Regions from separate parts of the Homo sapiens genome. Here regions 2, 3, 4, 5, 6 and 7 are each linked to region 1. Evidence: promoter capture Hi-C in 16 types of primary human blood cells and fetal thymus (Javierre and others, 2016). All regions are on one chromosome and are shown on one strand. The core of a region is centred on a gene start or on the middle of the fragment in contact, and the rest is flanking DNA. Distances in the headings are between cores, read along the strand shown.

What was found. The method cuts DNA at HindIII sites, captures the fragments that hold promoters and counts their contacts. A CHiCAGO score of 5 or more calls a contact.
Region 2: a fragment that was not itself captured here is called in contact with the fragment with the promoter of H1-5 in region 1 in 4 of 17 cell types (monocytes, fetal thymus, total B cells and 1 more); the score reaches 8.2 in monocytes.
Region 3: a contact is called between the fragment with the promoter of H4C3 here and the fragment with the promoter of H1-5 in region 1, in 17 of 17 cell types (M0 macrophages, activated CD4 T cells, erythroblasts and 14 more). The highest score is 18.9, in M0 macrophages.
Region 4: a contact is called between the fragment with the promoter of H2BC4 here and the fragment with the promoter of H1-5 in region 1, in 15 of 17 cell types (activated CD4 T cells, neutrophils, M0 macrophages and 12 more). The highest score is 21.3, in activated CD4 T cells.
Region 5: a contact is called between the fragment with the promoter of H1-4 here and the fragment with the promoter of H1-5 in region 1, in 14 of 17 cell types (non-activated CD4 T cells, fetal thymus, total B cells and 11 more). The highest score is 13.3, in non-activated CD4 T cells.
Region 6: the fragment with the promoter of H2BC6-AS1 here is called in contact with the fragment with the promoter of H1-5 in region 1 in 15 of 17 cell types (erythroblasts, M0 macrophages, total B cells and 12 more); the score reaches 19.1 in erythroblasts.
Region 7: a fragment that was not itself captured here is called in contact with the fragment with the promoter of H1-5 in region 1 in 17 of 17 cell types (fetal thymus, M0 macrophages, erythroblasts and 14 more); the score reaches 34.8 in fetal thymus.

The regions. Positions count from the first base shown.
Region 1 is chr6:27,866,075-27,869,244 of GRCh38, reverse strand. It overlaps H1-5 (H1.5 linker histone, cluster member), which reads left to right and starts at 1,657. Exons shown (of 1, transcript NM_005322.3): 1 at 1,657-2,453. The coding sequence starts at 1,716. The coding sequence ends at 2,396. RefSeq lists enhancers at 1,398-1,467, 1,728-1,837. The HindIII fragment of the contact is 3,270 bases long and covers 1-2,672 here.
Region 2 is chr6:26,081,970-26,085,139 of GRCh38, reverse strand. No RefSeq gene overlaps it. Among named protein-coding and RNA genes, the nearest start is that of HFE, 3.9 kb to the left of the region's middle. The HindIII fragment of the contact is 4,963 bases long and covers 1-3,170 here.
Region 3 is chr6:26,102,295-26,105,464 of GRCh38, reverse strand. H4C3 (H4 clustered histone 3) reads right to left here and starts at 1,532. Exons shown (of 1, transcript NM_003542.4): 1 at 1,128-1,532. The coding sequence starts at 1,517. The coding sequence ends at 1,206. RefSeq lists enhancers at 1,170-1,860, 1,885-1,994. The HindIII fragment of the contact is 10,429 bases long and covers 1-3,170 here.
Region 4 is chr6:26,122,421-26,125,590 of GRCh38, reverse strand. H2BC4 (H2B clustered histone 4) reads left to right here and starts at 1,665. Exons shown (of 1, transcript NM_003526.3): 1 at 1,665-2,124. The coding sequence starts at 1,687. The coding sequence ends at 2,067. H2AC6 (H2A clustered histone 6) reads right to left here and starts at 1,419. Exons shown (of 1, transcript NM_003512.4): 1 at 901-1,419. The coding sequence starts at 1,358. The coding sequence ends at 966. RefSeq lists enhancers at 1,043-1,252, 1,343-1,482, 817-1,502, 310-1,509, 1,753-2,492 and 4 more and a silencer at 1,516-1,881. The HindIII fragment of the contact is 15,442 bases long and covers 1-3,170 here.
Region 5 is chr6:26,154,698-26,157,867 of GRCh38, reverse strand. It overlaps H1-4 (H1.4 linker histone, cluster member), which reads right to left and starts at 1,539. Exons shown (of 1, transcript NM_005321.3): 1 at 753-1,539. The coding sequence starts at 1,477. The coding sequence ends at 818. RefSeq lists enhancers at 1-306, 1,036-1,115, 1,376-1,535, 1,060-1,811 and a silencer at 696-745. The HindIII fragment of the contact is 19,818 bases long and covers 1-3,170 here.
Region 6 is chr6:26,171,279-26,174,448 of GRCh38, reverse strand. It overlaps H2BC6-AS1 (H2BC6 antisense RNA 1), which reads left to right and starts at 1,676. Exons shown (of 3, transcript NR_186648.1): 1 at 1,676-2,414. It also overlaps a transcript of H2BC5 not described here. RefSeq lists an enhancer at 1,710-2,602. The HindIII fragment of the contact is 22,011 bases long and covers 1-3,170 here.
Region 7 is chr6:26,195,050-26,198,219 of GRCh38, reverse strand. H3C4 (H3 clustered histone 4) reads left to right here and starts at 934. Exons shown (of 1, transcript NM_001376937.1): 1 at 934-1,436. The coding sequence starts at 970. The coding sequence ends at 1,380. It also overlaps the pseudogene H1-12P. RefSeq lists enhancers at 605-1,205, 1,584-1,693, 1,206-1,807, 2,554-2,603. The HindIII fragment of the contact is 159 bases long and covers 1,563-1,721 here.

The DNA.
Region 1 (3,170 bases), core at 408-2,907:
AGCCTTGACACCCTGAATTCAAGTGATCCTCCCACCTCAGCCTCCCGAGTAGCTGAGACTACAGGCATGTGCCACCACATCCAGCAAAATGTTTTGTATTTTTATTAAAGATGGGGTTTTACCAAGTTGCCCAAGCTGGTCTCCAACTCCTGAGCTCAAGCAACCCACCTATCCCAGTGTCCCCAAGTGCTGAGATTACAGACATGAACCACCGTGCCCAGCCTTTGTTTTTGTTTTTTTTTTTTTTAACAATACTTTTAAAACATAAAGACACTTCTTAGCTTGAGGGCCATACAGAAAAAAGCCATTGTCCAGATTTGGCCATAGTCTGCCAACTTCTCCAGGAGTTCTTAGAAGATGAAGTGCATTGGCTACTTTAAATTTTCTTGCACAGCATTTCAAGAATGAGAAATAAGTGACTGTTGATTTCATTAGGAATCCAAATCATCATTTGATCATTTTTATCATCCAGGCATCCTGTCCAATCCCCTCCACCTCCCATAAATTGTAAACTTCATTTATTTCAACCTCAGTGTATTTGCCTATGTTTTCCTGAGTTCCTCTGAACCTCTATAATGTGAAGTCGCTCAATATCCAATCCAACCTTTTCACAGTCAATAGCCAGATATTCTTCTAAAATATTAGCGCTAAAACACACAAAAATACCCATATTGATGTATCCTGGCTGCTCATAGAAGAGAGTATTCCTGATGGTGCAGCTTGTTAAATGTGGGTGGAGATTCAGGGGGAGCAGTGAGAACATTTCGAAAACCTGACAGTGTCCTGGGCCACCTAAACAGTTTGTGCATTTGAGGATCACTGGGAGCTCTTGAATAATTTTCCACAAGTTTGAGTTTTCTCTAAACTGAATTATCTATATTATTTTTCTTCCCCTTTTTTAATGGATTTGCCCAGGAACTAAAAAGAGAAAACACTCTAATTAGAAAACATAACACATTTAAGTTTGAATGTGAATCTGAGTAGTTAGATCCTTAAGTCAAAGCGATTTGTATTACTGGTGCTGCAATGCAGAAGAAGTCACTCTGACTGTGGAACTCTTCCAAGCTGCAAAATCCCATTCTGTAAAGACATTAGCACATGGAAACTCCTAGGACACAGAACCAGTTTGTAAAGTCAAGTCTATGTGGTTAAGTTGGGGCTGTAGGCAACCAGCTGTCCTGTGCCTGTGTTACTTGCTACAGTTAGAAACAAACTTCATGCCCAAACCAAGGAACCCAGTGTCTTTTCTCTTGCAAAAATCAAAGCATGAACTCATGGGCAAATTTTTAAAAATAACTTTCACTGGATACTTAGTAGAAATTTATCGCGACACGCTACTAACTAACATGATGCCCTCAGCCCAATGGATTCTTATGAAAAGCTGAAGGGATTTTTTAAAATATCTTTCATCAATTGCACAAGATTCTTGAAAACACAAACAAGTATGTGAACCTGGAGGCTGTTTTCCTCCTTTGGAGCTTCAAAGTGCCAAATTCTGTACCATTGTTTTAAGCATTTAATCAAATTTTGAGGACTAACAAACACAATTTGGGAGTCCAACCGCGAGCGGCGGCGGCCAGAGGGCGGTGGATTGGACGCTCCACCAATCACAGGGCAGCGCCGGCTTATATAAGCCCGGGGCCCGAGCATAGCAGCAACGCAAAACCTGCTCTTTAGATTTCGAGCTTATTCTCTTCTAGCAGTTTCTTGCCACCATGTCGGAAACCGCTCCTGCCGAGACAGCCACCCCAGCGCCGGTGGAGAAATCCCCGGCTAAGAAGAAGGCAACTAAGAAGGCTGCCGGCGCCGGCGCTGCTAAGCGCAAAGCGACGGGGCCCCCAGTCTCAGAGCTGATCACCAAGGCTGTGGCTGCTTCTAAGGAGCGCAATGGCCTTTCTTTGGCAGCCCTTAAGAAGGCCTTAGCGGCCGGTGGCTACGACGTGGAGAAGAATAACAGCCGCATTAAGCTGGGCCTCAAGAGCTTGGTGAGCAAGGGCACCCTGGTGCAGACCAAGGGCACTGGTGCTTCTGGCTCCTTTAAACTCAACAAGAAGGCGGCCTCCGGGGAAGCCAAGCCCAAAGCCAAGAAGGCAGGCGCCGCTAAAGCTAAGAAGCCCGCGGGGGCCACGCCTAAGAAGGCCAAGAAGGCTGCAGGGGCGAAAAAGGCAGTGAAGAAGACTCCGAAGAAGGCGAAGAAGCCCGCGGCGGCTGGCGTCAAAAAGGTGGCGAAGAGCCCTAAGAAGGCCAAGGCCGCTGCCAAACCGAAAAAGGCAACCAAGAGTCCTGCCAAGCCCAAGGCAGTTAAGCCGAAGGCGGCAAAGCCCAAAGCCGCTAAGCCCAAAGCAGCAAAACCTAAAGCTGCAAAGGCCAAGAAGGCGGCTGCCAAAAAGAAGTAGGAAGCTGGCGTGTGAAAACCGCAACAAAGCCCCAAAGGCTCTTTTCAGAGCCACCCAGAGACCTCTAAAAAATGGCTGTGCACAACATGTTAGATCAGGCAGCAAGATTCCTTGCATTCGAAAAATCTCGGGCAGTTCTCCCTCAACCCTAATCGAGTAACGCAAGGCAAGCAAGAGTCCAGGGTGTTGGTTGGACTCCCCACGTAGTTTACCCATGCAGTCTGTTATTAGAGTATGAATTCCAGCCGTTGGTTTTTGTTAAGTTGGTGTCAAGCTTTTTGTCAGACGCCTAGCTACAAAGAAGCTTCTTATATTTTAAAAAGCCCGCTCTATAATCTGATTGGCCAGTTTTTGTTCCATCATCTGTATGTGGTTTTTCCGCGTTTAAGCCATTTAGGCACCAGCTACTTCGGCGTCACTAATGTGTTCGGCATTAATATAATATGCTATCAACGCACAAGACAATATAGTAGCAAGTTTCAAGATGGGGTCTCTATTACATGCCAATTTGATATGACCGTGTCATTCTGTACTGGATTATTTTTTTTTCCTCAAGTCAGGTTCTCGCTGTCACCCAGGCTGGCGTGCAGTGGCGTGGTCTCGGCTCACTACAGCCTCAGCCTCCCCGGCTCAAGGGATCGTCCCACTTCAGCCTCTGTGAAGTGCTAGGACTAAAGGCGTGCACCACCCCGGTCGGCTAATTTTTGTATCCGCTATGATGCCCAGGCAGATCTCGAATTCATGAGCTCCAGCGATCTTCCCGCCTCAGCTTCC
Region 2 (3,170 bases), core at 244-2,743, 1.8 Mb after region 1:
TTCTATTTGGAACATTTAGTATACATAGAGGCATATAATATATTGCTTTGCCGTGACTGGCTTCTTTCATTTAGCATAATGTTTTTATGTATGTTTTTCATGGACCAATAATATCTATTATAAGGACATACCACAACATATTTTATTTATTCATTCATCAGCCGATGGACATTGGTTTGTTTCTACTTTATGGCTATTGGGAATAGTGCTGTTATAAACATTTATGTACAAGTTTTTTTGTAGACTTATGTTTTGATTTCTTTTGGTTATATATCTAGAAGTGGGTTTGCTGGGTCATATGGTAACACTGTTTAACCTTTTGAGGAATTGCCACATTCTTTTCCAAAGTAAGCATTTTATCCTCCTATCAGCAGTGTATGAGAGTTCTGATTTCTCTCCATCTTTGCCTGGGTTTTTGAATCAGGGCCCCAGATAGAACAAAAATGTGGTTATTCAGTTGTTCCACCATCACTTGTTGAGAAGACTCTTTTTTCATTGAAGTGTTTTGGCACCCTTATCAAAAATCAATCTACCATAAATGTGAGAGTTTATTTCTGGAGTCTCAATTTTATCCCATTATGCTATAATCTATAATCCTATCTTTTTTTTTTTTTGACAGAGCCTCACTCTATTGCCCAGGTTGGAGTGCAGTGGCCCAATCCCGGCCACTGGCTCCTCCTCCCAGGTTCAAGCAATTCTCCTGCCTCAGCCTCCCAAGCAGCTGGGATTACAGGTACCTGCCACCATGCCTGGTTAATTTTTGTATTTTTAGTAGAGACGGGGTTTCACCATGTTGGTCAGGCTGGTCTGGAACTCCTGACCTCAGGTGATCTGCCCACCTCAGCCTCCCAAAGTGCTGGGATTACAGGCATGAGCCACCACACCCAGACTATAATCCTATCTTTATGTCAGGACTACACTGTCTTGATTACTATAGCTTTTTAGTAAATTGAATTCAAGAAGTTTCTCAACTTCAAATTTGATCTTTTTTTGGAAGACTATATTAGCTATTCTCAGTCTGCTGAATTTCCCTAGGAATTTTAGGATCTATTATCAATGTCTATTCTATTTTTGTATATGTTTTAATATTTTCATAAGAAACTTTTTTCATTTAAACTTTTTTTTTTAAGAAAAATAGTGAAAATCAGAACACTGGGGGTCAGGCGCATTTAACAGGCAGAAGAAGAATAAAAACTTGTCATATAAACAAAAAAGAAATGACCAATCACATTGTGGAAGCCATGGAGTGGTTATAGGTGCCAAAGGCTGCAGAGAAATGGTGTCAGATATACCTGAAAATTGTCCATTGTATTTGGCCATTAAGAGACTTAGAAGACTTAAGCCATAGATTGCTCAGTGAGACCCCGAGGGCAAATGGTCTGAAGGTGAATAGATCATTTCACCTTTAAGAGAGCAGGTAGGAAGCTATAAATCCAAGATTAAAAAGTTGACTGAACTGTTAAGGAAGAAACTCTAATCTTGAGCCACCCTATCCTGGCTCCACCTTCTGCTGCAAGCAAACAGAAATGCTGAAATTCAACACTCACAAAGGCTGGTAAGCTGGAAATGACAAAAATTACTCCTGGGAAAGTCAGATTTAGAATTAGGCCATATTTGTTGGGGTTCAGATTTTCATGTACACTTGGGAAAGGGTTTAGCTTATAGGCACATGCATGAAGGGAACTGGTATAGGGCTGTGTTCATAAGGTCAAGAGTTGAAGGCCAGGCATGGAGGCTCTTGCCTGTAATCCCAGCACTTTGGGAGGCCGAGGCAGGAGGATGGCTTGAGCCCAGGAATTCAAGACCAGCCTGGGAAACATAGGGAGATGCTGTCTTCACAAAACAATTAAAAAATAAAATTAGTCAGGTGTGGTGGCACACACTTGTGGTCCCAGCCACTCAGGAGGTTGGGAAGATCACTTAAGCCTGGGACATTGAGGCTGTAGTCAGCCATGATAGTGCTACTGCACACCAGTCTAGGTGACAGAATGAGACCCTGTCTCCAAAAAAAGAGCTGTATCCACATCCCAGGAAAGTGGTTGAAGATCTACTTTTCTCTGTAAACCTAATAAAGAATAGAGTGACAAATGTGTGTTGTGGAAAGAAATGGGGTGAGAGCTACGTAGATGCAAAACAATACATCCCCACATACCACTTGTTAATCATCCTTTTCCACCCACTTATGGGATGAATTGCATCTCCCCAAAAGATACTCTGTCCTAACCCTCAGTAGCTGTGAACCTGACCTTATCTGGAATACGGTGAGTTCACTGGTTAAGAAGAGATTATAGTGGAATAGGGTGAGTCCTCCAACCAATGACTGGGGTCCTCACAGACACAGAGGGATGATGGCCAGGTAGAGATGGAGGCAGAGATTGGAGTTATGCTGCCACAAACCAAACACAGGAAGCTGCTAGAAGTGGAAACAGGCAAGAAAGAATCCTTCCCCAGAGGCTACAGAGGGATCTTGGCCCTGATAATACCTTGATCTCAACTGGCCTACGTAACTGTGAGAGAATAAATTTCTTTTGTTCTAAGCCACCCAGTTGATAGTACTTTGTTACGGCAGCCCTAAGGAACTTGATATACATTTCTTTTACTGTCATAGAAGTTTTGAATCTTTTAAGTAGGTCTGTACCCTTCCTCCCAGTGTCAACACATGGAATTCCTCTCCTTGTGCCTTGAAAAGTGAAAGGTGTTTGAACTGGTAATGAAAGAAATCTCAGCATGAGGCCAGATGCTGTACCTCACACCTGTAATCTCAGCACTTCGGGAGGATGAGGCGGGCAGATCACTTGAGGTCAGGAGTTCTAGACTACTCTGGCCAACATGGTGAAACCCCATCTCTACTAAAAACAAAAAATGTTATCCTAGCCGGGCATGGTGCCTGTAGTCCCAGCTACTCAGGAGGCTGAGGCAGGAGAATTGCTTGAACCCGGGAGGTGGAGGTTGCAGTGAACTGAGATCACGCCACTGCACTCTAGCCTTGGTGAGAGAGCAAGACTTGGTCTTAAAAAAGAGAAAAGAAAAATGAAATTTCAGCATTATAGAATAAAAATGTTTCCCCTTCCCCCCAAACTTTAAAAAAGCAGAAGTCTGCATCATAAAATGGTCTTTGCCAATGTTATTTTTATTATAACAAAGGAATCTTGCAAGGCTACCAGATCTCA
Region 3 (3,170 bases), core at 283-2,782, 1.8 Mb after region 1:
CCCAGCAGCTGGCCGGTCTCTCAATAATATGGGACTCCCTCAAGATGGCTTCCTGCACCTTTGCTCCTCTAGCCTTGTATGTATACAAGGCTAGCATGCCTGGCATACATAAGGTTAAAAACAAAATCAATAAGTTATGGTTCTTCCTCCAGTTCTGGGGATTATTAGACCACTTTTTTGTTTTGTTTTGTTTTGGATGGAGCCTCGCTCTGTCACCCAGGCTAGAGTGCAGTGGCACAATCTCGGTTCACTGCAACCTCTGCCTCCTGGGTTCAAGCAGTTCTCTGGCTCAGCCTCCCACGTAGCTGGGATTACAGGTGCCCGCCACCACGCCCGGCTAATTTTTGTATTTTTAGTAGACGGGGTTTCACCATCTTGGCCAGGCTGGTCTTGAACGCCAGACCTCGTGATCCACCCACCTTGGCCTACCAAACTGCTGGGAATACAGGCGTGAGCCACCGCGCCCGGACTTAGACCACTTTGTTTTGGCCAATAGGACAACAGCCATAGAACCCTCCGCAAATGAGAGCTTGTCCCTAAAGATGCTTTATTTACATAGCTGTGTGCCGCATGAGCCAAAAGGTGATAACCTTTGTTCAACACGCGCCTCCAGCCCTTCGGTTAAGTCCAAAGTACCATTCTTAGAATGCTCTAAAATACATAATTTTTTTTTTTTTTTTTTTTTTTTTTTTTGAGGAGTCTCTCTCTGTCTCCCAGGCTGGAGGGGAGTGGCGCGATCTCGGCTCACTGCAATCTCTGCTTCCGGGCTAGCTGGGCCTACAGGTGCAGACCACCACGCCCGGCTAAGTTTTGTATTTTTTTTGGTAGAGGGGGTTTCACCATTTTGGCCAGGCTGGTCTCGGATTCTTGATCTCAAGTGATACACTAGCTTTGGCCTCCCAAAGTGCTGGGATTACAGTCGTGAGCCACTGCGCCCAGCAAAATGCTTTTTGTGGAGCCAATCACTTTATTAGCGCTTACCTCTCTATGCCTACTTTATGCTTTGAAATTTTGTCACAGTGTGGCCGGTCATGGCAAACACAATTCATTCTTATGCAGGATGTCACGGTTATTTCTGTCATCCAAACTCATTCTCGCAACGCATTTCAGCTCTTTAAACGACTTTGTGAGCGGCCCTGAAAAGGGCCTTTGGGTTTTTTTGTTTTTGTTTTTTGAAGTTCTCAGGAGACCGCGTATTCTTAGATTCAGCCGCCGAAGCCATACAGAGTGCGCCCCTGACGTTTTAGGGCATATACTACATCCATGGCTGTGACAGTTTTGCGCTTGGCGTGCTCCGTATAGGTGACGGCGTCTCGAATAACGTTCTCTAAGAAAACCTTAAGCACACCTCGAGTCTCCTCATAGATAAGACCGGAAATGCGCTTGACGCCACCGCGCCGAGCCAAACGGCGAATAGCCGGTTTTGTAATGCCCTGGATGTTATCCCGGAGCACCTTACGATGGCGCTTAGCACCACCCTTCCCCAAGCCTTTTCCGCCTTTGCCGCGACCAGACATGATTCCTATCGCAGTGGAAGGTATGAACTGAAACAGTTCCTTAAATACAAACTTGGCGGACCTGATTGAAAACAACATGAGTTGGCGCGGTTTTTTTTTTTTTTCAAATTTGGTCACCAAGTGGGTGGAGCAAGAAAAACTGTTTCATTATGGTTCATTGTTTTGATTGGCCAGTGACAGCTTGCTCTTTGTGGGAGTGGAAGGGTGTTTGCAAGTTGAATGCGCTGTATTCCTGTCAGCTTAATGACGCTAAGCATAGCCCCATTCCACATTTCTTTTTATTTCCACTTGCTAACTAATAAATTACGGAATAGTTTATTGGGGAACATACAAATAATGTTTAAAGGAGGTCAGATTTATAGGTCAAGGGATTTACCCTCCCAATCATTTTAATATTTTTATTTAAACCAGGCATTTTGATGGCCTTCTCTGTGCTGGACAAGGTATAAGTTTGGCTATGAAGTTTCACTCCTAAAGACCCTATGTTTTGGGAAGGCAAAAAGGTAGCCAAATAATTGCAAATTAAAACCTCATAAGTGCAAACTTCTTCCTCGTCACTTTCCCTATCTCGATTCAAATATTTGTTGAATGACTCATTTTTCTGCAAAAGTCTGAGAGAGACAGGGAATATAAACTTAAGTCTGGATAATATGTTTTCCCGGGACGCTCTTCCTGGTCTGCTGTGCCTGTTTGCTGTGCCTGAAATTCCAAACACTCTTCCCTTCCCTCCGTTTTTAATCCCCTTTCAACTTGCTACAGCTTTAGAGAAAAGAACATTCGTTTTGTACAGTTGGGGATTAATTGAAGTGTAGGGCTAATACTTGATTAAGGTCATTACAAAATCTACAGGGTCTTCCTCTGGGAGGTTTTTGTGATAAGATTATTGGTGTTAAAATAAGGCTAATCCCCTTGAAAAATAAATAGAATAGCAGAATTGGGTCTGAATGTGGTTTGAAGAAAGGGACTTCTCAATTCAAAATTTTATTCTTAGCTTCCTGCGGGAGCTTTCCAGAATGCCCATAAGATCCACTTTTGTTTAAAAAACAAAAACAACCCCACCCACCACTCTCTGGTTAATAAATGAATTTCTATTGGGAATATTTAGAATGGGGCTGTGGCCTGTGAGAGACATTATATAGTAACCTCAGACTTGCTCACATGAAGAGAAGAAATCCAGGAATGGAGAAAAAAGACCCAGGAAAGGCCAGAATGCTCTACATGTCATATTGTTTGTATCACTTCTGAAATAATTGATTACATTCTTCTGCCCCAAATTGAGTTCTTAGGTTCTTCCACTCACTGTCCACATGCCACAACACAGACCTTATAACTAGAGACTTAGCTAGGAAGAAATGTCAAACATTACAGAGAAAAAATGCAGAGTCTGAGATCATAAGTAAAACTCTGAAATCTCAACATGCCTTTTAATTCATGAAAATAAAAAATATAGCAGCATATGCAATATGACAATTCTCTGAAAACATACATCATGTGAACTACCCTGGAACACATCTCGCCAAGTGCCATCTTCATTTTAACCAGAGGTCTAGGATGCCTTTCCTTTATTTTGCCTATTATATCATTTATAAAACCCCATTTTTATTTTGATATTTTATTTACTTTCTATTTCCTGCTCCTAATATCTCCTTTCTA
Region 4 (3,170 bases), core at 416-2,915, 1.7 Mb after region 1:
CTCACTGTTGCCCAGGCTGGAGGGCAGTGGCACGATCTCGGCTTACTACAACCTCCGCCTCCCAGGCTCAAGCGACTCTCCTGCGTCAGCTTCAAGAGTAGCTGGGATTACAAGGTATGTGCCACCACGCCCAACTTATTTTTTTATTTATTATTTTTATTTAGTAGAGAGGTGTTTCACCATGTTGGCCAGGTTAGTGTCGAAGTCGTGACCTCAGGTGATCAGCCCCCTCGGCCTCCCAAAGTGGTAGGATTAGAGGGGTGAGCAGAAAGCAAAGGTTTTTGAGTGGCCACAGGCCCCACTCTATTTCCTTTTCTGCCTGTAATGGCAACCTAGACGCTTGAGCTTCTTAAAATACAAGAGTAAGTTGCATGTCAGGCACCGTTCTACATTAGGGACATTAGTCTGTTTTACAGACACCTTTCAACTCCCTGGTTAACTTTTAGGTAATATACTCTGCACTTTAGCAGGAATGGGACCTATAACTCTCACAGAATTAGGAAAGTGAGGCTGCCTACAGCCTAAATTGAGAAAAAAATAGACGGGGGACTAGTCGGAGGACCAAACAAGGTTACCAACACGTTAGAGTTTTGCCTTCAATTTACATTTTTAAAGTAATCACAACGAAGTGTTTAGATCACGAGGCATCCCTGCATGTAAACTGTTAGGCACTAACTATGGTCGATCTTACAAAGCATTAACTAGAATATTTCTTTAGAGTATGATAGTACGTAACTGACCTACTATTACATACAAACAGACCAACCTTTAGTAACAGCGCTCCCCAAAAACCGAAAAGCAGTAATACGCTTTGCTCAAGGTTGGCATAAAATTAACTTACCTTAGTGCCTTTTTTCCTTCTACCTACAAGCAGTGAGGTTAGCTCTTCCTTTGAAACGGTAGGGGGGCTCTGAAAAGAGCCTTTGGGTTTGATAGCGTTTCCGGGAGCTCAGATACCTGTCAAATCACTTGCCCTTGGCCTTGTGGTGACTCTCGGTCTTCTTAGGCAGAAGCACGGCCTGGATGTTAGGAAGGACGCCGCCCTGAGCAATGGTCACCCGGCCTAGCAGTTTGTTGAGCTCCTCGTCGTTGCGGATGGCCAGCTGCAAGTGGCGCGGGATGATGCGAGTCTTCTTGTTGTCGCGAGCCGCGTTGCCGGCCAGCTCCAGGATCTCGGCGGTCAGGTACTCTAACACCGCCGCCAGGTACACCGGCGCGCCTGCCCCAACCCGCTCTGCGTAGTTGCCTTTACGGAGCAGGCGGTGCACTCGGCCCACCGGGAACTGGAGACCAGCGCGAGAAGAGCGGGATTTCGCTTTGGCGCGAGCTTTGCCTCCTTGCTTACCACGTCCAGACATTGCAATCAGACAAAAATCACCAAAACCAGCGGCCTAAGCTCACGAGAAAACAAACAAAATCAAGAAATATGTAAAACATGGCCGCTTTTATAGGTAGTTCCTGGGGAGTAAATCCGACTTTTTGATTGGTCGGTAGCAAATGCTAGTCAGATAGCCAATAGAAAAGCTGTACTTTCATACCTCATTTGCATAGCTCTGCCCACGGATGACAACTGTGCAGTTTGTCTTCCAATTAACTAAGAGGTACTCTCCATCCCTCATTAGCATAAAAGCCCTATAAGTAGCAGAAATCCGCTCTTTACTTTCGACACATTTCTGGTGTTTTAAGATGCCTGAGCCAGCCAAGTCTGCTCCCGCCCCGAAGAAGGGCTCCAAGAAGGCAGTGACCAAAGCGCAGAAGAAAGATGGCAAGAAGCGCAAGCGCAGCCGCAAGGAGAGTTACTCTGTGTACGTGTACAAGGTGCTGAAACAGGTCCATCCCGACACTGGCATCTCTTCCAAGGCCATGGGCATCATGAATTCTTTCGTTAACGACATATTTGAGCGCATCGCGGGCGAGGCTTCCCGCCTGGCGCATTACAACAAGCGCTCGACCATCACCTCCAGGGAGATCCAGACGGCCGTGCGCCTGCTGCTTCCCGGAGAGCTGGCCAAGCACGCCGTGTCGGAGGGCACCAAGGCCGTCACCAAGTACACCAGCTCCAAGTAAACATTCCAAGTAAGCGTCTTAACACCTAACCCCAAAGGCTCTTTTAAGAGCCACCCAGATACCCACTAAAAGAGCTGTGGCCAGACGCCAAATTTTATTTGGCGGCGGAGGGGTATTAGAATATAGGAACTGGAGAGGGGTGGGGACAAGTGTTGCAGCTTAGAGAGGGACAAAGGGTCCTGAACCCGAAAGAAGCCAGCCATTAAAAATGGCTTTGGGGTCAATTCGTTGTGCTTAAATTTAAAATGGAGACAAGCGGCCATTTTGCTAACTCGGCGTTCCCGGAAGAAACCGCAGGCTCGCTTAGGTTTCAGACCCAGCTGTCTGTCCCTGTCTACGTCGCCAGGATCAACGGTTGCCGTAATGTCATAATTTCGCCACCAGCTTCTAGCCAATAGGCTGTCCTGTCATTTTAAATATTAACCAATCGAGGGAAAGCTGTTTTGAGACTCTGATTTACATAGCGGACCGGAGTGGGAACCTGGGCAGTAACTGCCTAAGGAAGGACTCCCCCTCTGTTTTCGTGGCGCACACCTTCGTAGTATACTGAAGGGTGTGTCTCCTGGGTTTCCAACTGCCCCGGTAATAGTCTTTTAACCTAATATGCGTCAGTTTTGATAACAACACTAAGGCAGTACAGAACTAAAGATGTAAGCACTGCGCCAGATGTTGCTTCATACATCTTATTCTATTCAACTGGTTTATTCAAGATTCAAATCAAATCAAATTTTGCTTGAATCCCAGTGCTCAGTCAGCCATAAATGGTGTGTTGCCTGATTGAAACTTAAAATCTCCGTAGGGGGCTTGTAACATGCAGACAAGTTTGAAAGTTGCTTTAGGAGAAGCCAACTCTTAACTGCTGGGTAAATTGACAAGCCTTCGAACACTGAACTGAAGGCCAGTAAGGACTAGGCGCTGGGTGGGGGAGAATGAAGAGGAGACGTCATTAAACTTAGCACATACACTGTATCTCCTAGAGGACTCTCCCTTCCTAGACAACTGCAGGCCGCTTTGTGGCCTGGGAAATTCCACATTCCCTTAAGTATTTTACTCATGGTCTTTTCCAGGTAAAGATTTTAAGATGAAGGGTTAGACGTAGTCTA
Region 5 (3,170 bases), core at 290-2,789, 1.7 Mb after region 1:
TTTTTGAGATCCGACTTTTTTAACATTGTGGTGTCAGAACTTACACCGAAAGATACTTAACAGATTAGGAGAACTCACATTCCTTTCTTCCTTTAACAAAGTATGGGACTCGTTGCATACAGAAGCCGTGCTAATTGGGACATCCCCCCCCCCCAAGTCTGTCAGTTTTACGTTTCGGCAAGTCCTTAATCCATCCAAATGCCACATTTAAGGACCAAGTATTTTTCTGCAGTGTCGGTTTCTAATTTTCAGTTATGTGGCAGTAGTCTCCCCAAGCACTTGAAATGTAGCCCTTCGGAAATAATGTCAGTACTATGCCACTTGTCCTAAGACGTACTCCTCTGAAGTCCCTCACTGCCTGCCATACTCGATAGGGATAACCAGTAGGCTTGTAACCAGCACAGAAACTGATACACTGTGCCGTGTTTGGAACTCGGAAAAACCCAGCTTAGAAACCCGGGAAAATCCCAACATTTTTTTTCCCATGCTATCTGGAGGCCAGGGCCTGCTAAAAGTGCAAAGCACAAGGGAGGCCCAAATGGGTTCAACTCCGACACTCGAGAACGCAAAATCGAGATGACGCCACTGCACTCCGGCTTGGGCGACGCGACGCCTTAGTCAAAAATAGCTCCGGAGACACACAAAATCCCACTCCTCTCCCCGACTTTGTTCCCGGGAGACCCGCCCCTGCTTAGCAGCGTTTTCCCGAGCCACGCCCCCTAATAGTGCAACAGCTCTTTTACTGAGAGCGGTGGGTGGCTCTGAAAAGAGCCTTTGGGTTGTGTTGGGCTTCTAAGCAGTTGGCCAAAGGAACTTTCTACTTTTTCTTGGCTGCCGCCTTCTTTGGCTTGGCTGCCTTGGGCTTGGCGGTCTTTGGTTTAGCCGCCTTGGGTTTAACTGCTTTGGCCTTCGCTGGGCTCTTGGGCGCCTTTTTTGGCTTGGCTGCTTTCGCCTTTTTCGGGCTTTTCGCTTTTTTGGCTCCAGCAGCTGCAGCCGGCTTCTTCGCCTTCTTTGGGGTCTTCTTGGCGCTCTTCTTGGGGGTGGCCGCCCCCGTCGCCTTCTTGGGCTTCTTCGCCGCTCCTGCTGGCTTCTTGGCCTTGGCCGCGCCTGCCTTTTTAGCCTTAGGCTTGGCTTCCCCAGAGGCCGCCTTCTTGTTGAGTTTGAAGGAACCCGACGCGCCGGTGCCCTTGGTCTGCACCAGGGTGCCCTTGCTCACCAGGCTCTTGAGACCCAGCTTGATGCGGCTGTTGTTCTTCTCCACGTCATAGCCAGCGGCTGCCAGCGCTTTCTTGAGAGCGGCCAAAGATACGCCGCTGCGCTCCTTGGAGGCGGCAACAGCTTTAGTAATGAGCTCGGACACCGGGGGCCCAGACGCTTTGCGCTTGGCCGCACCTGCAGACTTGCGGGCCTTCTTCTTCACGGGAGTCTTCTCGGCAGGGGCCGGAGCAGCGGGCGCGGCAGGCGCAGTCTCGGACATGTTGAAGGCAAGCGTGAGCGAGAGCAATTCGAGCCGGAAGCAGAGGCACTGGCCGGGACTCGAGCCGCGGCGCTGCGCCCGCCCGTTTATATAGGGCGGAGCTGCGCCGTGATTGGTGCGCTGTCCAGCCCGCCTCGCTGGCAGCCGCAGAGTGTCCTCTCGGATCCCGAGTTGTGTTTGTTACACCTCAAAAAAAGCCAAAAATATAAAAATTGTCTACACCGAACTGCCCGGTTTTTCTCAGATAATGATCCCCGAACCCTCAGGCTTCACGCAGATCTCAAATTATAAGGGAAGCACAAAGCCTTGTGCCAAAAACTTGCAATATTTCCCGCCGTGCTTGGCAAATTTCAACTCAGAGAAACAAAACTTTCTATTTTCTTCGTAAATTATAAACCGATCTTTAACTGTGGACTTTTCTGACCTCTCAAATATGATACTCCAAGTGGTTAGCTTCTTATATATCCAAAAAGCATGCCACTGGCATTAAGATTTTTATTACAAATCTGCACTTAAGTGAGGGAAGTAACACAGGCTCCTCGGAGAGTCCTGCCTATTGAGCCGAGGGCATTTGAGTTCATCAAACTGGTTTAGTTTAATGCCAAACAAATTATTGCCCATTTGAGATTAAGTTTTGGACCCCTGGGACATCAATCTATACAGCCATGGTTTTACATCTGTCCGCTACATCTGAGTTTTTAAACAATTCTTTGGATAATTCTTTCCCTTTCTGCTCCCAAGGGTTGGGGGCGGGGCTGTTGCTTCTCTCTTCCTCTGGACAATTGCTCCATGGATTGAGATACCTTGAATTCAGGGTATTTGGGAACGAAGGGAAGTCCAAAATGTACTCAGGGTACAGAGATGAAAAAGGATTAATTTTCAAATGTGATGTTCATAAAGTCACTGGAAGTGGAGGTGCACTTTACTTTAAAGCATTTGTCTGCAGCCTTGCTGAGTGCTTTTGGCATATGCTTCAGAACCAAATTGCAATAAAGTAGCTTAGAGCTGAAATTCAAGCATTGATGATAAGGCAAAATAAATAAGAAACGTAGATTGAAACATCTACTCCCATTATTAGTGAAACCCAGCCCCTATTATTACTGAATAGTTGAGGAATGACTAGTCCACTCACCACGTATGGTTTCAATCCCCCTGAAGATTGTATTCCAATGCTTCCCAGAGCTCAATAGAAAGAAAAATAAGTGACATGTAGTGATTAAACGACAAGTTCAAATTTCGATCTCAGAAGTAGAGCTTTGAGAGTCTATCTAAGCTATTATAAATCATTGCCCTCTGAAAACATCCTTTGAACAATGTCTGAGTGAATTTCTTTAGGTAGTTGCCCAATCAAGAAGAGTGTATGTAAGCTGGCAATGAAAGCCCAACCAAAAGAATTATTTCTGGTCCGGGCGCGGTGGCTCACGCCTGTAATCCCAGCACTTTGGGAGGCCGAGACGGGCGGATCACGAGGTCAGGAGATCAAGACCATCCTGGCTAACACGGTGAAACCCTGTATCTACTAAAAGTACAAAAAATTAGCCGGGTGCGGTGGCGGGCGCCTGCAGTCCCAGCTACTCGGGAGACTGAGGCAGGAGAATGGCGTGAACCCGGGAGGCGGAGCTTGCAGTGAGCCTAGATAGTGCCACTGCAGTCAGGCCTAGGCGAAAGAGCAAGACTCCGTCTCAAAAAAAAA
Region 6 (3,170 bases), core at 427-2,926, 1.7 Mb after region 1:
CTTCTGCTTCACCTCCTGAGTAGCTGGGACTACAGGGACGTGCCACCTCACTTGGCATGATACCTATTTCACAGAATCTGTTACTATAGAAAAACAGCTCTCCTACTCACTTTTTTCTTGTAAAATTGTATAACATTATTAGCAAAACTGGAGAATACAAATTTTAAAAAGGAAGGAAGAGAGAAAGAAGAAAAAAACAAAATTATAGTTTTGTCTCACTAATGAACATTCATTTTTGTTTTTTAGAAAAAAATGCCTATTATGAGAAAAAATGGAAACCAGGAGAAATTGCAGAGACCATGTTATTTAAATAAATAGCTGATTATATAGGGTTTATTCTAAGAATAGAAGGAAGTTTAGTATTCTAAATCTGCCAGTTTAAGAAATTAATAAAGGAAGGCCCAGAGCAGTGGCTCACGCCTGTATTCCTAGCACTTTAGGAGGCTGAGGCAGGTGGATCACTTAATGTCAGGAGTTCAAGGCCAGCCTGGCCAATGGCGGCCTATCTTCTTCTGATAATACAAAACTTAGCCAGATGTGGTGGCACGCACCTGTAGTCCCTGTTACTTGGGAAAGTGAGGCAGAAGAATCGCTTGAACCTGGGAGGTAGAGGTTGTAATGAGCTTAGATCAGGGCACTGCACTCCAGCCTGGGAGACAGAGTGAGATTCCATCTCAAAATAAAAACTAAAATAATAAAAAATAAAATAAAATAAAATAAAATAAATAAAATAAAAAAGAGATTAATAAAGAAAAAACATGATCATCTCCAAAGATACTGCGAAAGCATTTAACAAAATATAACACTCTTTAATCATAAACACTTAACAGACTACAATGAGAAGAGAACTTCATAAGGAGGAGCTACAGCGAGTATAACACTTAATGGTGCCGTTTTGGAAGGATTCCCATAGAGGCGGAAGGAAGACAAGTGTGGTGAGAAAGTACTCCTATTCAACACGGCATCACAGGGTTTGGCCAATACCATGAGATAGGAACAGGCAGTCAGAAGAGCAAGGATTCAATAGGAAAAGATGATTATCTTTGAAAATAACATAATTGTCAAGGTAAAAGTTCACAAGAATCTATAAACAATTAGATCAAATAAGAATTGGAATTAGTGGGCATAGGCCAGGCGTTGTGGCTCACGCCTGTAATCCCAGCACTTTGGGAGGCCGAGGCGGGCGGATCACGAGGTCAGGAGATCGAGACCATCCTGGCTAACACGGTGAAACCCCGTCTCTACTAAAAAATACAAAAAAACTTAGTCGGGCGTGGTGACTGTAGTCCCAGCTACTCGGGAAGCTGAGGCAGGAGAATGGCGTGAACCCGGGAGGCAGAGCTTGCAGTGAGCCGAGACTGCGCCACTGTACTCCAGCCTGGGGGACAGAGCGAGACTCCGTTTCAAAAAAAAAAAAAAAAAAATTAAAGTCATATGAAGATTAATATGTAACATCTTCTTCGACTTAAATGTTCATTTTTTTCCTTCTGACTTTAGAAGAAATTAAAATATTTTCATGAGCCTCCAAAAGAACTGCGGACCCTAGACACCGTGCCTGCTGTTTAATGGAGTACGGCACTGCGTGTACCGGAAGATGATTTTTTTAAAAAAAAACTCAATTAGGAAATAATTATTCGCACACATTCATATACATACATACATACACTGAATCCTCACACGAAGAGCCCTACAGGCGTGAGAACAGTAAGGGAGATGCAAGAAAGGTCTCCTTGGAGTTGGGAGGCGTATTTACAGCTACTAGAGAAGGGGGAAGTGCCAGCTCCCCGAGAAGAAAGCAGGAGGATGCTGAGAGACTAAAGCTGAAATTTTCTGCCTGCTTCCTCACTCTTTTCGTTGGTTTCAGCCGTCTGAAAAACCCTTGTGAGAGGAGCAAAAAGGTCAAGGGAAGATTGTTGCCTTGCTCTCAGTCTTCAAAATTTTCGATCCTCCGTTTTTTTTGTTTTGAGACGCAGTCTCGCTCTGTCGCCTAGGCTGGAGTGCAGCGGCGCGATCTCGGTCACTGCAACCTCCGCCTCCCTGGTTCTAGCGATTCTTCTGCCTCAGCCTCCTGAGTAGCTGGGACTACAGGCGCGTGCCACCACACCCGGCTAATTTTTTTGTACTTTTGATAGGGACGGGGTCTCACGGTGTTAGCCAGGATGGTCTCTATCTCCTGAACTCGTGATCCGCCCGCCTCGGCCTCCCAAAGTGCTGGGATTACAGGCGTGAGCCACCGCGCCCGGCCGGTCCTCTGTTTTTAAACTGTAAAGGACTCCAGCGGATTGTTCGAAGTCTCCGATATCCCGCGATCTGGTGGCCGCAGAAGAAAGAGGCCGAGTCGGCGGGGACTGGGAACCACCAGTTAGCGGCCTACGGGCAACCTCCCGGACGCGCGCGCCGGGCCGACGTTAAACGTACGTGACGCCCTATGCGGGAGCCGGATGGGCGTAACGGGGCGGCGGCGTAACGTGTGGCTCTGTGGTTAGGGCACGGAGGGGCGTGGCCGGACGGCCCTATGAGGGGGCCGGCGTTTTTGGCGAGGGTTGATGGGATGACCCTATGAGGGAGCCTGCGTGGAGGGGCACGACCGGCCCCAAGACTCCTTTTCATGGCCGCATAGCCGCACCGGGAGTAGGATGACCGCTGTTATTTTTCAGGACCTCTCATCTTCGGTTTGAAATTCTTTGCTTTTTTCCGGCTTTGTGTGGCTATTTAGTATTAGCATTTTAGGGCAGTTTCATTTCCTTTAAAGTAAAACTCTCCAAAGTGGTCTCCGGACCAGCAGCATCAGCATCACCTGCATAATTTAGAAGTACAAATTATCAGGTCCTACCTCAGATCTAATGCATCAGAAAAGTTTTGTGACTGCTTCAAAACATTGTTTCCCTTAATTCAGATGCTGGAGGAGACCTTTCAAATGGCAGCTTAGCATAAGCTAACCAGTTTTTAACTTCAGGTTCATTACCAAAGCCACATCAGTGCTTAGGCCTTATCCACTCAGACCTCCTTGATGCTGGAAAGTAAAGTGAAAATAGGTAGATAGATGTCTAGAAAGGGGAGGTCTTAGAAGAAAGGTTTGGATCAACAATGAAGGCAGAATTTACAATTCTCCGCAGATTTTATTAATTATAACTTTTTTTTTCAGACGTCCTGCCATCTTCTCATTCAGA
Region 7 (3,170 bases), core at 393-2,892, 1.7 Mb after region 1:
GAGAAGTTAATGTTTGTCAGTGTTTACATTTACATAAAAATATAGTTAGTGACTTAAAGCAACAGAACCAGAACAAATGTTTTATTGTCTTTTGTATGCATCTTAATGATACGAAATAACCTGTAATTTGTAAGTATTTTTTGGGTTTGTTTTTGCAAGCCACTTTCAACTCTACTGAGCTAACCCTAATTAATTATCAATAGGAATACAAACCTACATCCCCTGGAGCCAGACGGCCCTTAGGTGGAGCTTCTTAGCACAGTGTTCAGCATGACTAAAAGGGCACACTGGTCTTTTTGTGCCATTTATAAATTTGGCTTTTTTTTTTTTTTTTTTTTACAGCAGATTACACAAATACCAGTTGAACTTGTAAAAGATAAGAGTGCTTTCATATGAGGATGACATATTGTGGTGAAATTAAATGTGTTCATGTAGCTTAACATCAGGTTTCATATTGTTACTTATGAGTTAATAGTCATGGTGCATTTGGAACAAATTATTGAAAATATCTCCAAGTTTAAATAGACAAATCAAGATATGAAATTAACCTTTCTAAACTTAAGAGGGTAAAAAGAAATCACTTGGCCAATCACAACTAGCGCGCGTCTTTTTAAAACGTTGATCAAAGCCAGTTTCAGCGCCAACATTTAAAAAAAAATTAAGACACGTCATCCTAGTAGCTAGACACAATTTTGCCAAGGAAAACCAAAGTACGTTTTAAATAAAAGCTAGAAACATGGCACAGAGGGGAAAGGGTTGAAAACACCAGCAGTTAAAGATGGACGGAGGAAAGTTTTAATATTTGGTCTACATGCAGGAGATGTTCTGTCAGGGAGTGGGCGTCTCCACCAATCGAGCTGCAGGGGAAAGGCTGCCTTGTCCAATCAGAACAGGGGTGTCTTTATATATACGGGTACGAAAGGCTAGACTTTCGTTTTTTCGTCATTTAGCAGGGTTTAGAAGTTCGCAATGGCTCGTACCAAGCAGACTGCTCGCAAGTCCACGGGTGGGAAAGCGCCACGCAAGCAGCTGGCCACCAAGGCTGCTCGAAAGAGCGCTCCAGCCACCGGCGGCGTGAAGAAGCCCCACCGTTACCGGCCCGGCACGGTGGCTCTGCGCGAGATCCGCCGCTACCAGAAGTCGACCGAGCTGCTGATTCGCAAACTGCCATTCCAGCGTCTAGTCCGTGAGATCGCGCAGGACTTCAAGACTGATCTGCGTTTTCAGAGCTCGGCGGTGATGGCGCTGCAGGAGGCCTGCGAGGCCTACCTGGTGGGGCTGTTTGAGGACACCAACCTATGCGCCATTCACGCCAAGCGAGTGACTATCATGCCCAAGGACATCCAGCTTGCTCGCCGCATTCGTGGGGAGAGGGCGTAAATTGTCTTGTGAATGTGTGCTAACCAAAACCCAAAGGCTCTTTTCAGAGCCAACCACCTTTTCTATAAAAGTTGCTGTTTACTGTTGCTGTCCGTAAACTGGAACCTCTGTTCACTCAAGGTAAGTAAGCATTCTTGCCTCTATCCGTTCCCCCTCCCCTCACGGAATTGGTGCAAAAAGCTTTATTATAATTGGGGAGTTCTTAAAACAGCCTTTAAGGTACTCTTATATCTCCTTGTTTTGGGGGCCGCTTTCTTAGGCTTGGATGCCTCCGGCTTGGGAACTTTCTTGGCCACCTTTGACCAACCAACCTTCTCCAGCAGCCTCCACCAGCAAAAGCTTTTGGGGTCCGCTTAGTACTCTTTTTCGGAATAAGGACGCCCCAAGCTTTCTTGGGCCTCTCGGCTGCCAGGACAGCTGTCTTGGGCATGACTGCAGCGGCTTTTCTGGCCTCGGTCTTGATTTTCCTAACACTGCCTGGTTTGGCGGGAATGAACCTGAGGCGCTGCACTCCTTAGCACGAAGATGCCCTCGTTTGTTTTCAAGGCCCAACTTTATTCAAATAATTTTTAAAAATTTGTATTTATTTTTAGGGACGAGGTCTCACTGTGTTACCCAGGCTGGCCTCAAAACTCCTTAGCTTGGCCAGGCGAGGTGGCTCAGGCCTGTAATCACAGCACTTTAGGATGCCAAGGCGGGCGGATCACGTGATGCCAAGAGTTCGAGACCAGCCTGCCCAACACATTGAAACTTCGTCTCTACTGAGAATACAAAAATTAGCCGGGTGTGGTGGCACACGCCTGCAGTCCCAGCTACATGGAAAGCTGAGGCAGGAGAAGGGCTTGAACCCGGGAGGCGGAAGTTGCAGTGAACCGAGATCACACCACTGCACTCCAGCCTGGGCAGCAGAGCTAGACTCCTTCAAAAAAAAAAAAAAAATCCCCAAGGACAAACAAAACCACCAAAAACAACTCCTTAGCTTAAGAGATTCTCCCGCCTTGGCCTCACAAAATGCTGAGATTACAAACGTAGGCCACCGCGACCGGCAAGGGCCGATCTTCATATCGTAGCCGCCAACACCTACTTGAGCGCGGCCACAGAGAAGGCCGCTGCGCTTCTTGGAGACGGCTAAGTCATTAGTGATGAACTCACATACCGGAGGGGCCTGGACATCTTGCACTTCACTGCAACTTCGGACTTGCAACCTTTTTCTTTACTTCAGTCTTTGACTTGGGAGATAGACCAGGAGTCACGGCATGTACAGTTTCGGACATGATTGTAGGTTTGGATATCTAACAGTTAAAAAAAAAAAAAGTCAGGCTGCGAGTGTGTCTGTGATTACGTGTGTGTCACACACAGACACGCTGCGCGCTGATTGGTTCCCAGCTCAGTCTTTCAGCTTGGCAGCAACCTAGTCTCAACCCTGTTTCTGAGTTGTGTTTGCGGAAATTCAGAAAATCAAAATAGTTTAAATTTCCTGAGGAGGAATCACACCAATTCTATTCTACAATGAACTGGAACGGCTACGGTGTTATGATCTTTACATTTTCTTTCTCTAGTTTTTACTTAAGGCAGCCTCGGCCTTTATCAAAAGTTCCAACTTTCAGAGATTCACAGTTCAGAGGGACAACTTCTTGATTTTCATTTAAAATATAAATTCTTCCATTCGTGTCTTCAATTGTTTGCTGTCTTCTAATAATAGCCTACACATTTTTGGCTTCTCATACATTGAACAACTACTTGATTTTCATTGAGATTTAACGAGGAAATCTGTTTTATATGAGAAGAGA